2 separate regions of the Homo sapiens genome follow, and region 1 is linked to region 2. Evidence: promoter capture Hi-C in human tissues and cell types (Jung and others, 2019). All regions are on one chromosome and are shown on one strand. Each heading gives the region's core, a stretch centred on a gene start or on the middle of the fragment in contact. The rest is flanking DNA. Distances are from core to core; before and after follow the strand shown.

The links. Contacts are between HindIII fragments. The study calls those that stand out against the background at their distance.
Region 1: the fragment with the promoter of SLC1A5 here is called in contact with the fragment with the promoter of PPP1R13L in region 2 in 1 of the 25 tissues and cell types used here (stomach).

What each region holds. Positions count from the first base shown.
Region 1 is chr19:46,787,274-46,789,973 of GRCh38, forward strand. It overlaps SLC1A5 (solute carrier family 1 member 5), which reads right to left and starts at 1,321. Exons shown (of 8, transcript NM_005628.3): 1 at 127-1,321. The coding sequence starts at 692. RefSeq lists silencers at 399-448, 459-508, 1,479-1,638 and enhancers at 989-1,590, 1,239-1,533. The HindIII fragment of the contact is 6,368 bases long and covers 1-2,029 here.
Region 2 is chr19:45,403,740-45,406,439 of GRCh38, forward strand. It overlaps PPP1R13L (protein phosphatase 1 regulatory subunit 13 like), which reads right to left and starts at 1,330. Exons shown (of 13, transcript NM_006663.4): 1 at 1,260-1,330. RefSeq lists enhancers at 1,216-2,011, 1,982-2,181. The HindIII fragment of the contact is 18,212 bases long and covers 1-2,700 here.

The DNA.
Region 1 (2,700 bases), core at 71-2,570, 1.4 Mb after region 2:
TCGAGTTTTCCTAAGACTCTAGAGGGAAGTCTCTGCTCCAGGGGCCCCAAAGCCCCGTCCTGTCCACGTGACCACTCCCGCCATCCGTAACACTCTTCCCCACCTCCCGGGGGAGCGGGAGCTGACCTCGCAAGATCCAGGAACGAATCGAGCACCTCCTTGCTGGGGGCATTTTCGGCACTGCCCGCGGCTCCCACGGAGGCGTTGATGGCGGCGGAGGCGGCGCCCGGCTGCAGAGCCAGCGCCAAGCCCACTCCGAGCGCCGACGCCAGCAGCGTGGTGACCAGGAAAAAGAGCAGCGCCCAGGCGCCCAGACGGCCGAGCGCGCCGGGGTCCAGGCTGGCGGCGCCGCCGATCAAGCTGCACACCACCAGCGGCAAGATGATCATCCGCAGCAGACGCAGCAGCAGCTCGCCCGGGAAGACGAAGGCGCTCAAGCGCTCCGGGCCCAACGCCAGCGCACCCCCGGCCCCCGACACCCCCAGTCCCAGCGCCACGCCGGCCACCACGGCCACCACTGTCAGCAGCACAAGCAGGTTGGCTCGAAGGCAGCGGCGCACCTGGTCCCGGGAACCGCAGTAGCCGCCTGCTGCCGCGCCTTGGTCCTCGATGGAGGCCAGCGCCAGGCCCCCGTTGGCGGTGGGCTCCGCCGCTGCGAGCCCCTTGGAGTCTCGAGGAGGATCGGCCACCATGATGGGAAGCACCGGGGTTTCTTAGCGCCTGGAAGCTGGCTGGGAGCGCTTGGGCTCCTTCCCAGGACCCGACGTTCCTAGGACTGAGTTGAGTAACAGCACCTGGAGACTGGAACTTTGGAGGGCTCCTTAGAGTTGTGAGTTCACAGCACTGAAGTTCCTTGGCTCTTGGAAGCTGGAGTGTTTAAATTCCCCAGGCTGGGCGCTGAGGCTTCTCTGCTCTGCCCCGTGTGCCAGATGTCCGAAAGCTGGGAGTTCGGAGCGCCCGGGTTCCTTGGCCCTAGGAGCTGGGAATACGAGAGTTTCTCTGGGTGGGACGTGGGGCCCTTGGCTCCAGGAGGTTGAGTGCCCCCAGATGGCGGAGGTCTGCAGGAGGCTAGGTTCTGGTGGCGCAGATCCCGGACGCCTGGATCCGGGAGGCGGGGACCCGGGCTGCCTGGGTCTTGGACACTGAGGGCTGGGATGCCAGAATCTGGGGGCCGGGAAGCGGACCTCCGGAAACAGGGGACCCAGGCTCTTAGGTCCGGGAGGGTGGGATGCGGGCCCCTGTGTACGGAAGGCGGTGGTCTGGTGTCCGGGAGTAGCGGTTACCAGCCAGAGAAAGCCTCCCGGGCGTGCCGCGTGGCTCTGAGCCCGTTTAGCGGAAGCTGCCAGGGATAAGGGTAGGGGGCGGGGCTTGAGAAGGCGGGGACCGACCCTCGGGCGCCGATTGGCTGCAGAGCGTTCGGAGACTGGACGAGTAGGGGCGGGGCTGATACCCGAGATGGGCCAGGTCCCCCATAGAAGGCAGATTAATAATACCCATCTCCAGGAGCCGGGCCCAGAGACGACGGGGCGGGGCCAGGAAGGGGCGGGGCCTTGGGAGGGTGCTGTTTCCCGCCAAAGGAACTGGGTTGTGGGTTGGAGCCCTTAAACCACAGGGGTTCGTTCCCTGGTGCGAGGGTCGCTAGAAAGCTCCGGTGGTCCTCGGTGATTCATTTGCAACTCAACTCAGCTTTGGAACTCCTCAGCCCTGAGTTTGGTCTTTAGTCGCCTCTGAGAACTTTAATTCCTCGAATATAAAGTGCAGGTGTTAAAAGCTTTTGTCTCATATGATTGCTGTAAGATTTAAATAAAATTGATGTATTTATTTAGGGAGCCGTGGCTCAAGCCTGTAATCCCACCACTTTGGGAGGTGAAGCGGGCGGATCACTTGAGGTCAGGAGGTCGAGACCAGCCTGGCCAACATGGTGAAACCCGTCTCTACTAAAAATACAAAAATTACCTGGTGTGGTGGCACGTGCCTGTAATCCCAGCTACTGGAAGCCTGAGGCAGGAGAATCGCTTGAACCCCAGAGGCAGAGGAAGTCATTCACCTTGAGGCCACACCTAGAGAGGATGACACGTGCATGCCCACCTCCCAAGCCCCTAACCGCACCCACTCTGCTGCCTCCCCAAATTCTCTGTTAGTGGCCGTTTGGGAGGTTAACAATGAATTATGATTCCTTACTCCACCTGACAGTGTTGAAATCCTCATTCCTTTCCCATCTCTAGCCTGTTCTGTGACATTTCAGGCTTTCATGCTTGCTCAAAGATTGTAGTGGTAATGTCAGAAGCTTCCTCCTACAGCAGCTGTGAGGCCTCAGGTAATTTACAACCTCTATGAGGCTCAGTCTTCATATGTGTAAATGGGAATAATAATAAGTCATACCGCCTTGAGTGTTGCAAGGGTTCAAATGAGATAATACGGCCGGGCGCAGTGGCTCACGCCTGTTATCCCACCACTTTGGGAGTTGATGCGGGCAGATCACTTGAGGTCAGGAGTTCCAGACGAGCCTGGCCAACATGGCAAAACCCTGTCTCTGCTGAAAATGCAAAAATTAGCTGGGTGTGGTGGCACATGCCTGTAATCCCAGCTACTCAGGAGGCTGAGGCAGAAGAATTGCTTGAATCCAGGAGGCAGAGGTTGCGAAGAGCCGAGATCTCACCACTGCACTCCAGCCTGGGTGACAGAGTGAGACTCCACCTC
Region 2 (2,700 bases), core at 80-2,579:
GGTTATCATCAAATGCCCTTCAAGCCCAGACATTGGGAAACACTCCTCTCTCATCAGATGCTCGCCTCCCCCATTCTGTTTTTAATCCCCCTTCTTAGGACGCATGGGGGTGGAGAGAACGGGGAGATAGACAGAGGGAGGTGCCTGGTCCTGCCCTCCCCCCGCCTCAAGGACAGACAGACACCTCCAGAATTAGCCTCTGTCCCTCCCTTATCTCCCACAATACCCCAGGTCAGACAGATGGGCGTGGAGGTGACATTTCTCACCTCAGGGTCAGGGCAAGGAGCCCTGAGGCAGAAGGTTAGTCAGAAAATCTGGCGGGGGCGGATGGAATCCCGTCCCCCAGAGAGCTGCAGAAGAAGGAGGAGGCAGAATCCTGACCCTACAAACTCTACTGCCTGTGTGAGCTCCAAGCCTCAGTTTACCCCTTCCTCTCCGTGTAATGGTTAAATGCCCGGCTATGCAAACCTCCCAGAATCCAATAGCCGCTTTCCGGAATTCTGCCCTGGGTTCTAGAACTACCTCTGCAAACCCAGCTGTTTCCCACCCCATAAGGCAATAGGGGAGCCCACCTCCGCCAGGGGGTGCCCTAGGGCGGATGTCCCTTCTCTGGTTAGGCAGGTCTGACGCCCAGGTTAATGACATGTTGGGTTCGCTCAGCGGCACAGAGGAGGTTGGAGATCTGCCTCGGTGTTTTCTCTCCTACCCCGCCCCCATCCCCGAGCCGAAAAGTCGGGGGAGAGCCGGGACACAGCCTCCGGAGGGACCCCGGGTACCTGTCCTGCTCCACTTCAGGAACCCAGGCTCCACTATCCCTGCCCCACCCTTAATTCTGCTCAGAGACCTAGAAGATCGGTCGAGACAGCAGCTTGAGGCTGGCAGGGTGGTCACCCATTCCACCTTGAGCCCCACCAGTCTGAGCCTCTCATTTCTGACCAAGACTCGGGGATTCGAACCCCTATACTACCCAAAGACTCGGCTTCCTAGAGCCCCCCAGTTCGAGGGACTCAGGAATTCCAGCTCCAACGTCTCCCCGGGATGAAGGGGTAGAATCCCTCCATTCCAAGAATTCAGGCATCCGAACCCGCTTTCCTTCCCTCCAGTAAAACAGGCAACGGAGTTTCCTTCTAAGGATCCAGGTGTCGGCGCGCCCCAAATTCCGCCCTGGGACCTGGCGTCCGAGTCCCCTCCCAATCCTCCCAGGGACGCGGGTGTTGGGCTTTTTCAGGGCCTCTGGTCCCCAGGAGGGTGAAACTCACGGATCCGGGCAGATCCTGGCACCTGGGGGCTTCCTCCAGCTCGGGCTCCGGCTTGGGGAGCGGAGAACGGGGCGGGGCAGGAGCTGGGAACAGGTTAGACGACGTGACTTGGGCTGGAGGGAGGCGGGTCCCGGTGGGGAGGGGGAGCCAAGGTCGCCTCGAGCACCTTGGGACTTGTAGTCCCGGAGGGACAGGACGTAGCCCAAGACGATCCCATTTGGATTCACCCAGAGTCCATTTCACAGACAGGAAGGGCGAGGCCCAGAAGCCGAGAGCGACCAGGCCAGGGAGATACAGAAGAGCCGAGACGCCTGCCTCGCTGTGGCTGGAGACTGACTCCTGAGCCCTTGCCCCACCCCTTCAGGCGCACTATCCCCTTTCCTGATCAGTATCCCCCAGGGTCTCTGAGCCCGAATCTCCCCGTCGATAAAAAGCGCGGGTTGGATCTTCAAAGGATGTCCCAGCAAGAGTTCAAAATCTTAGTTTGGACTACAACCCCCAGCAGCCTCCGCGACCGCCCTCGGGCGACTCTTTGCCTCGGGTCCTGTGGGAATTGTAGTCCTGGAGCCCGCAGGGGCTGCACCCCGGTGTCTCTCTCGCCCACGCGAAGGAAACCGTCTGGAGATCCTGGATAGGGGAAACATTTCCCCTTCCCCTTGACCCTCCCTCCGCTCTGGAAAGCCTCTCCCACCTGGGGAGAAGGGGTGCCCCAATTCTGGAGTAGGATCCTAAATCTTGGCAGAGGGGGCGGGAAGTGGCGCTGACACACTGGCCAGGAATGCAGTCGGGTCACCCTGTCTAGCCACCGTCTCGCGGCTCCAACCGCCGCCCAACGCGGGGCGGCCCCAGTGGGAAGGGAAGTGGGTGCGTCCCCCAAATCTGTGTCCACGTGCCGCTGTTTACACGCTCCCTGGGGCAGGGAGGAGTCGCCGATCAGGTCCCTTCCTGAAAGTCATCGAGGTTTCCCACGCATGAGACTAAACCCCCGAGGGCATCTACAAGTCCCATTTGATCCACAAACGCTACACCGTGCCCAGCACCACTCCACGCGTGTGGGGCTCCTGGGTCCGAGGCTCCGCCCTCGAGAACCACAAGCTCCTCCCCCTATGTTTCCCGCTCCCCCGGAGTCCAGAAGCCCCGCCCCTGGCTGGAACTTCACGCCCTCCGGACGGATTGCCCCTATTTCTCCATTTTCCCGCTTCTCCCAGTCAAGTTCTGAACTTGTGAGGCATCTGGGCCTCCCCAGAAGACATTTAACACAGAAAGCACAGCCCTACTAACTAGTATTCTTACCTGTCTCTTCAAGAATTTCAGACCAATCGACCGTCCTGTCTCTTTAAGGCTTAGGAAGAGCAGTGTGGCTGCCCCTTTAAGGAGGCGTTGCAACAAACCATATTGGACAGACGATGGGGGCGACCCATCGGGACCCGACGGGCCTCTG